3 separate regions of the Homo sapiens genome follow, and regions 1 and 3 are each linked to region 2. Evidence: promoter capture Hi-C in 16 types of primary human blood cells and fetal thymus (Javierre and others, 2016). All regions are on one chromosome and are shown on one strand. Each heading gives the region's core, a stretch centred on a gene start or on the middle of the fragment in contact. The rest is flanking DNA. Distances are from core to core; before and after follow the strand shown.

Region 1 (2,904 bases), core at 140-2,639, 170 kb before region 2:
AGTGAGTTCCAAGTCTGCACTTCACTGTGACAGGGATGCATGGGTCCCACTGGACTTGGGGGGCATCCTGCAGGAGGGGCCAGGCTTATGGAGAAGAAGCCCGCGGTGCTGTTCAAATGCCAGCCCTGATGCGAGCGAGGGAGGGAGGGTTGCCTGAGGGCGGGAAGCGGTGAGGGAGCCGGGATAATGGCCCAGCCTGAACCTGTCGCCACGGCAACCGCAGGGGCCGTCTGGAGCCAGCAGCCTGCCAGGCCTTGGCCCCACAAAGCCCGAGAGGGAGGCAGAGGGGGCGGACCTGGCGGGGCATAAATCAGGGAGTTCTATGCCCCTGACTCCGGGCAGACGATTTATGGGACTACTCCAAGCCCACGAGATGCACAGGGGAGAGCTGAGAGGGTCTCCCTGTTCCCACCGCCCCTGGGGCCCCTGCTTGGACTCGGATGCGTGTGCAGGGTGGGCAGGAAGAGGCCCCTCCAGGCCACCCTCAGAGCTGCTGGAGGCCCCTGCCCCCACCCATCCCATAAGACACCTCTGTGCCCACTGTACCAGCATGCGGCCCCCACGCCAACAGCAAAAGTCTCAAGAAAGAGATACCTCTAAATTCTTGAAATGCATGCTGATATTTTCTATCTTATTCTGTTCTATTCCTTTTTAAAAATGCTGGTCACAACTCACTAAATTAATGTCATGACTCATTCATAGTTTGTGACCTGCAGTTAGGTCAACACTGATCCAAAGGAAGCCAGAGGGGGAAACTGAGGCTCACCGACTCCCTCCTCTCACACACAACTGGAGCAGACTTATATGCATCAATCAGCTCCTCCAGTCTCCCCACACACCTGGCTCTGCCTCAGGGCCCAAGCTTGTTCCCCACCACCCATTGTAGTCATTCAAGATGGAACCAGCTTCCTTGGAAGGTAATGAGCTACCCATCTCTGAAGTCATCCAAACAAAAGTTGAATGACCACCTGCCGGGTGCTCCAGGGAATCCCGGCATCCCTTAGAGAGAGGCCAGACTAATGCCTCTGAGCCTATACGGGGTGGGAAGCAGGCAACGCTGACTACTTTGCCCACATAGCGGCTGAGCCATGGACAGGATGGGAGAGAGGCTGCAGGCCAGCCAGGCCCACTGGAGGGGGCTCAGAGCTTCAGGCTGGCTCAGATAGACAAGGGGCAAAGATAGCATCAAGAAGGTGAGTGTCCAAGGATGGTGGCTCACACCTGCAGTCTACCTCAGTACTTTGGGAGGCCGAGGCCAGAGGATCGTTTGAGCCCAGGAGTTCAAGGCTGCAGTGAGCTATGATTGCACCACTGCACTCCAGCCTGGGTGACAGATGAGACCCTGTCTCAAAAAAAGAAGGTGAGTATGCCTGGTGGGAGCCTGGCAGAGACAACAGGGGCCACTTAAGAGGTCCCAGCACCCAGCCCCCTTCCTCCTGGCCCCTTTGCATTACCCGCCCAGACCTGCAGGGGGCTGTGCCTTCCCTGGCTGGGCCCCTAGTCCTGGAACAATGTTCCCAGCCCCACAATCACTGTTTCTGCCCTATCTCCTGCCTCTCTCAGCTGTCTACCTCCAGAAACAAGTTCCTCTTACCAGGAGGTGCCGAGATGCTAAGAACGGCTGATGACTGTGTTTCCGCACAGCACAGAGGCCTGCTGCTCCAGATTCAGACAGACCCGGATCCCAGGCCCAGCTCTGCCACTCACCTGTGTGTGATCTTGAGCAAAAGCCTTGACCTCTCCCAGCCATTTTAGTCAATAACATGAGGCCATCATATCTACCTTGTGATCATTGATAAGGGAAGACATCCAGGGTATATTAAGTTAAAAGGGCAAATCTGTTCCCATGTTTGTTAAAAACAAAAACAAAAGCAAACCCCTTTATTTATATGTTCGCTATGCATGCAAAAGCTTGGAAGGAAATGCCCCAAACAGGTGGTAGAAGGGTCATGGAGAGGGAGAGGTGGATGATTTTCATTTCCTACTCTATACACTCTTTGAATTTTTTTTTTTTTTTTTTTTGAGACGGAGTCTTGCTCCGTCATTCAGGCTGGTGTGCAGTGGCGTGATCTCGGCATCTTGGCTCACGCAACCTCTGCCTCCCGAGTTCAAGCAATTCTTCTGCCTCAGCCTCCCGAGTAGCTGGGATTACAGGCACACACCACCACACCTGGCTAATTTTTGTATCTTTAGTAGAGACAGGGTTTCACCATCTTGGCCAGGCTGTCTCGATCTCCTGACCTCATGATCAGCCCGCCTCAGCCTCCCAAAGTGCTGGGATTACAGGCGTGAGCCGCAGCTCCCAGCCTGAAAAATTTTAAACCAATAAGCATGTACTAATTTTGTAACCAAAAAATTGAAATTAAAAACAATCCAACCCCAGCCCCATTCCTGCTGTGAGGACCTAAAGGGTAAATGCATACAGAAGGCTGGTGGTGGCGGGGGGTGGGAGACAGCCCAGCCCCCACCTTCTCATTCATTTTTTCTCTCCAGGGGTCTTGTTCATTCCCAGTTTGTGTTTTATAAACTGGTGAATTAAAGATGTATAAAGATGTATTAGTGTTATTCCAATTAATTGGACACCAATGACTCTCCTTCACCCCAGAAAGCATTTGTTGACCACTGTCCAGCATCCTGCAGGAGTGAACAGTGGAAATCCAAGCACAGAGGGACTTGCACCTCCATTTAGGGACCCCCACTCCCTTTAGGGACCCCTGGGGAAAAGGCAGTCTTTAAGCGTCACACCAGTCTGAAGAAGTGCATGCAGTTATGACGGCCATCTTACAGAGTGAGAAAGTGAGGTTCAGCGCTAACGCCTCGTCCAAGGTCAAAGGCTTGTGAGGGGCGGGGACGGGGGAGTCCAAGTCCTTCCCCCTCTGACTCCTGTGCCCAGGGCCTCGCAGG
Region 2 (2,700 bases), core at 153-2,652:
GAGCCCTTCCTCTGTTCTGAGCCCAGGGGACCCCAGGGCACCATCCCAGCACCCAAACATGATGGCCTCTGTGGGAGCAAACTTCATACTCCAAAATCAGTGAAGAACTAAGATCAGGGGGTGAGGGCATAGACCTGGTCCTTGCCTCTGTTCCCAACCCCTAGGGAGGTGGGACAGGTGCCTCCCTTTCCGGGCCTTAGTTTTACTGTTTAGATAAGAGGTCCCTCTACCTGTGAGCAGCTGGGGGATGCAGCCTGGAGGATGAGTAGCACACAGAATCAGATCAGTGACCTGAGAGGGTGTGGCGTGGACTTGGGCAGACAATTCTTAGGGGTTACAGTGATGTGGAATTGAGCTCTCTGGACTAGCCAAGCACAGGCTGTTGCAGCCCATTCCATTCCATTCATTTATTCCTTCCACAAACATGGCAGGCACCGCCCTGTGCCCAAAACAAACAAGAGGCTGAATCTGCCTAGTATGGGAGGATAAATCGAACAAGCACATAGAAAACCAAATGCAAAGTAAGACTTGGTGAGTGAGCCAAGAGAGCTTCCCTAAACTCCTCCTGTCCTCCCAATCACAGCGTCTTAAGCCCACTTCCCGGATGAGAAAACGGAGGCTCAGAGTCAAGACCCTGCTGCCTGGGGCGCGCCCAGACCTTGTGGCTAGCCAGAAGCGAGGTTTCGGATTCCCACAGTCTCGGGCCACTGTCCCAAGCTGCCCAAAGCTGGGGAGGCCCCGTCCAGCTCCCGGAAGGCTGTAGGGAGGTGAGCGCCAGGGAGGGGCTGGGCCGCAGGACGCGGGGGCCAGGAGGCAGGGAGGGGCCGGGCGGGGGGCGGTCGGGAGACATCCAGCGCCCCGATGTGCAGCCCCAGGCACCCGGAGCGCCAGCGCCTGGGTGCGCGCGAGTGGTAGCCGCGCTCCGGTGGGTCCGCCGCGGTCGGACCGGGGTCTGGGCTCCAGGCGCCGGCGGGGGGCGGTGGGGGGGGTAGGGGGACAGCGAGGGCCGCGCTGCAGTGCCCGCAGCGGCGGGTTGGGGGAGCTGTGCCCGCCTGTCCCCTAGGCCCGGGCGGCGGCCGGGCAGCTGGGTCGCCGCGCCTCTAGCCGGGCCGGGCTCGGCGGCGCGCAGCCAGGCGTGCCTGGAGCGGGCTCGGGCCCCAAGTCCTCCGGAGCGCCCAGCCGGGGAGGCCCCGGGAGCAGCCCAGTCCCGCGGGCTAAGGCGGCAGCCGCCGCCGCTCCGGCCCGCCCCCGGGGGGGTGTCCCGGGCCGCTGGGCCCGCCCAGGTAACCCCATCCTCGGCCCGCCCCCGGCCCGCCCCCCCGGCCGCCCGCCCGCCCGCCCGCCTCCGCCGCCGCCGCCGCCGCCGCCGCCGCCGCATCCCGGCTCTGGGGCGGCGCTGACAGTCTGGTCCGCGCCGGGCAGCGGGCGCAGCAGCGGGCAGGCTGCCGGCAGGCACACGGAGGCAGAGCCCCGCCGCGCGCGCCCCGGCCCGCCCGCGGGCGCCCACCTGCAGCCCCGACGGGAGGCCCCCCGCGGCCGCAGCCGCTGCCCCGGGCCGGGCGCCCGCGGCGGCACCATGAGTCCCCGCTCGTGCCTGCGTTCGCTGCGCCTCCTCGTCTTCGCCGTCTTCTCAGCCGCCGCGAGCAACTGGCTGTAAGTCTGGCCGGGGCCGAGCGGGGCGGGGCGGGGCGGGGCAGGCCCCGGGGGCAGCGGCCGGTGCCAGGCGGCGCGGGGCAGCGGGCGCGGGGCAGCCCGGCAGGTGTCTCGGCCGCGGGACCGGAGGCTCGCTCGCTCCGCTGCCGCCGCCACGGCCCGAACGTCCCTCTGCACACCCGGGGTCCCCTCCTGCCCGGGTCCGGCTCCCTGCCCAGAGGCGTCAGGGGTGGCTGTGGCGGCGTCCGCACCGGTAGGCGGCTCGGGGCTCTCGAGGGCGCCAGGGGTGCGAGCGCGGGGCGGTGGCCCGGGAGGGGCGCCGGACGCGGGTTGCAGTCCAGCCGGGCTGACAGGTCGCTGAGGAAGCCCATTGCAGGGAAGGGCTCCGGGACATAATAGCAGGTTAATCCCGAGAAGTCCGGAGCGAGCTCCCAGCGCCGAGCTGCGCCGAGCTGCGCCGCGCTGCGGGCTGGGCTGGAGGCGTGCAGGGACCTGTTTCTGCTTGGGGGGCGGGAGCCGGAGACAGAAGGAAGGGACCAGGACGCCTGGTCTCCCAGGGCCCGGGGCTGGCGCTGGCGCTGGCCGGGCCTTGGTTTTTCCCCGGGGCAGGAAGAAACTCCGTCCAGACCTTAAAGAAGACAACGGCCCCCCAGCTCCCCGTGTCTAGCCTAAGGAGGAAGGGGTGGTAACCGCTGGTGACCTGTCTGTTTCTCCTTGACTGGATCTGCGCTCAGGGCGCTCCCTGGGTAGGGGCGGAAGGTTTGCTGCAGGGAGGGAGACTAAAGGGATGAGCTCCAGTGAGTGGGTGGACAGGGAGCAAGCGGACCCGCGCTCCTTTCATCCCCGCTCAGGGACAGTTCCCCATGCCCCGCGCTTAACCCTGGCCCCAGTTCCTCCTGCCCAGAGCTCTGCCACCATCCGCTGTGGGCAGCCAGTGGGGAGCCAAGCTCCAATATTGATCTGAAAAGCATGGGGTGGGAAGGGGGATCGCCAACAGTGTAGCTGGGGTTTCCATGGAGACAGGGAGAGAGGAAAAAATTCTCTCTG
Region 3 (2,969 bases), core at 448-2,947, 250 kb before region 2:
TTATTTTTGAATGGAAATCAGATCATTCATCTCCTCTACTTAAAATGCTCTAAGGGTTCATTCATTCAAGAAATATTCATTGACTAGGGACTAAGTGCTGGGCTTGGTTCTCTCTCCTTCCCTTGTTTTACGGCCCTTGTAGCTCTCATCAGGTGCTCAGAGTATTGTGTTTGGTTTGGTTTGGTTTTTTCCTTCCAGACAGGGTCTCACTCTGTCACCCAGGCTGGAGTGCAGAGGTGCGATCACAGCTCACTACAGCCTCGATCTCCCGGGCTCAAGTGATCCTCCCACCTCAGCCTTCTCAGTAGCTGGGACTACAGGCATGCACTATCACATCTGGCTAATTTTTATATTTTTAGTAGAGACAGGGTTTTGCCATGTTGCCCAGGCTGGTCTTGAACTCCTGGGCTCAAGTGATCAACCTGCCTCGGCCTCCCGAGGTGCTATTACAGGTGTGAGCCACCGCGCCCAGCCCCAGAGTATTGTTCTTTACAGGCTATGGGGTTCATGTGTATCCTTCCATAGAACATCATCAATTCTGTGAGGGCAGAGTCCTATATAATGCCTGTCCCCTCATGGGTATGTCTGTCTTGTACACAGCCACAGGAATGTCTATCTTACACAGCTTCTCCCTAGGTCCTAAAACAACACCTGACATGTAGTAGGTGCTCAATAAATATTTGTTGAACAAATGAAGGAACGTATAAAAGCAAAAATAAAGAAGTAAGGCAAAATCTTTCATCATTCCACCACCCAGAGATCACTGTTAACGTCTTGGCATATTTCTTCCTAAATTTCTTCTATGTCACTGTTTATATTCATATGAATATAGTTGAAAACACATTTTGCACCTTTTTCCTTAACTCAGCCTAACAGCATAAGCATTTCCCATGGTATTAAGAAGCATTATTCTTCTTGAAGTAACAGTCATGGTTCTCAGCCAGAGGCGATTCGGCCCCCCAGGGGACAGTTGGCAATGGCTGGAGACATGTTTGGTTGTTACAACGGGTGGGGTGAGGGGCATCGCTACTGGCTACTAAACGTCCTATGATACACAAAACAGCCCCCAAAACAACAAATTACTGGCCCTAAATGTGGATAGTGCCAAGGTTGAGAATCTGCCTTTAGTAGTTCATCATGAAGACCTATGAGATTTGGCTCCAACACCTTCCTGTTTCCAGTTTTCACCAATACAAAGAAGATTGTGAAAAAGAGCTTGAGACATGCATCTCTACCACACTTTATATTATCTCCACAGGGCAAATGGTGATGCTTGGTTTTTTCAGGAGGTTGAACGAAGGACAACATTGACCTTGCTTGGACTTCGTTTTTGTCAATTTCAGCTGCTTAGTCCCAGCCCTCTGGGCATTCTGTCCTCTGTCACATTTGTGGTCTTTTCCAGCTGCAAGTCATGTCAAGGGAAAATATCCAGACCTCCATGGCCAGGGTGCTTTCTGTGATGAGGGCTGCCCCACCAGCACCTCACCTGTCCAAGATTTCAAACCCTCACTGGGGGAAAACTTGTTTACCATGATCTATAAATAATGTGTGTCATGTGAGCAGAAGAGAAGAATGGAAGCAAGGATGCTGTGTACTTGCTGTGGACATTCAATTTCCAGTTTATACCAAGAAAACTGCAATTGTTCAAGACAATTTGGATGCCTCCTTGGGAAGTGCTTTAGGGGTTTACAATGCTTTCCCTCAATAAGAACATCATCTAGGTGAAAAGCCCTGGTGTGTGTACAAATACATCCTATGCAAAACAATATTCATTCATTCAGCAAATATTTACTGAACCCCTGCTATGTGCCAGGCACTGTTCTATGCTCTATAGACACAGAGATGAAACGAGACAGAGAGAGTCTCTGTCCACGGACAGCCTACTTTCTACGGGGAGCAGGGTCACATAACCAAATTATGTAAAACACAATGTCAGGAAGTAATTAGTGCTTGAAAAAAACATCAAGGACAGGGGACAGAGTGGCAGGGCAGGGAGTACAATTTTGGACAGGATAGTCAGAGATGGGTTCTCTGAGAGGCCATATTTTAAAGTGATCAGAGCTCAGAAAGTGAGTGAACCCTGGGGCTCTCTGAGAGTATAACAAGTGCAAAGGCCCTGAGGCAAAAATGTGCTGGGCATGTATGGGGAGCAGCAAGGGGGCCAGTGCAGTTGGTGTGAAAGGAGCAAAGGGGAAAGTTGTAGGACGTAAGGTTAGAGTGACAGAACAACCAGATCCCATAGGGCCTCGTAGGCCTCGGTGAGGACTTGAAGTTTTGCTCTCCTGGCGTATTTGAGCAAGGTAAGAAAGAGATCTCATGTTCCTTTTTAAAAATCCCTCTGGCTGCTGTATGGAAGATGAACTGTAGCGAGGCGAGGATGCAAGTGGGGAGCCCAGGAAGGGGCAGTTGTAATCTTGCAGATGAGAGGTGATGGTGGCTTGGACTTCATCATAAGGAGTGTGGTGCAGAAGGGCGAGATGTGGTCAGATTTCAGATATATTTTGAAGATGGAGCTGATGGGTTTGCTGATGCATTGCATGTGGGGGAAGGGTGACAGAAAGAGGGGTGGAGAATGACCAACAATTGAGAATTAAATGGGAGCTTTCGGAGATATGAGAGTTCTCTTCTGGGATTTATGTTTCCGTGGCACACCCACAAGCAATGGAGCCCCATGACAGCCAGCCAACCCCTGGCAACTTCCAAATTTCCAGATGCTCATTGATTTGCTGTTGTGTAGACTCTCCCTACTCAAAGTGTGGATGGAGAAAACACAGCATTAGCATCAGCTGGGAACTGGTTAGATGCTCAGGCCTGCCAGGTGATTCGTGTGCTTATTAAAGTGTAAGAAATGGCCGGGCACGATGGCTCACGCCTGTAATCCCAACACTTTGGGAGGCTGAGGAGGGAGGATCACTTGAGGCCAGGAGTTTGAGGCTGCTGTGAGCTATGATCATGCCACTGCACTTCAG

Evidence for each region. The method cuts DNA at HindIII sites, captures the fragments that hold promoters and counts their contacts. A CHiCAGO score of 5 or more calls a contact.
Region 1: a fragment that was not itself captured here is called in contact with the fragment with the promoter of WNT4 in region 2 in 1 of 17 cell types (endothelial precursors); the score reaches 5.4 in endothelial precursors.
Region 3: a fragment that was not itself captured here is called in contact with the fragment with the promoter of WNT4 in region 2 in 8 of 17 cell types (megakaryocytes, M2 macrophages, endothelial precursors and 5 more); the score reaches 8.8 in megakaryocytes.

Annotation. Positions count from the first base shown.
Region 1 is chr1:22,316,027-22,318,930 of GRCh38, reverse strand. No RefSeq gene overlaps it. Among named protein-coding and RNA genes, the nearest start is that of MIR4418, 51 kb to the right of the region's middle. The HindIII fragment of the contact is 1,049 bases long and covers 865-1,913 here.
Region 2 is chr1:22,141,799-22,144,498 of GRCh38, reverse strand. It overlaps WNT4 (Wnt family member 4), which reads left to right and starts at 1,402. Exons shown (of 5, transcript NM_030761.5): 1 at 1,402-1,653. The coding sequence starts at 1,577. The region is part of intron 1 of LOC105376845 (a long non-coding RNA gene); the gene reads right to left. RefSeq lists silencers at 983-1,312, 1,875-1,934. The HindIII fragment of the contact is 11,467 bases long and covers 1-2,700 here.
Region 3 is chr1:22,395,723-22,398,691 of GRCh38, reverse strand. No RefSeq gene overlaps it. Among named protein-coding and RNA genes, the nearest start is that of ZBTB40, 55 kb to the left of the region's middle. The HindIII fragment of the contact is 4,522 bases long and covers 1-2,969 here.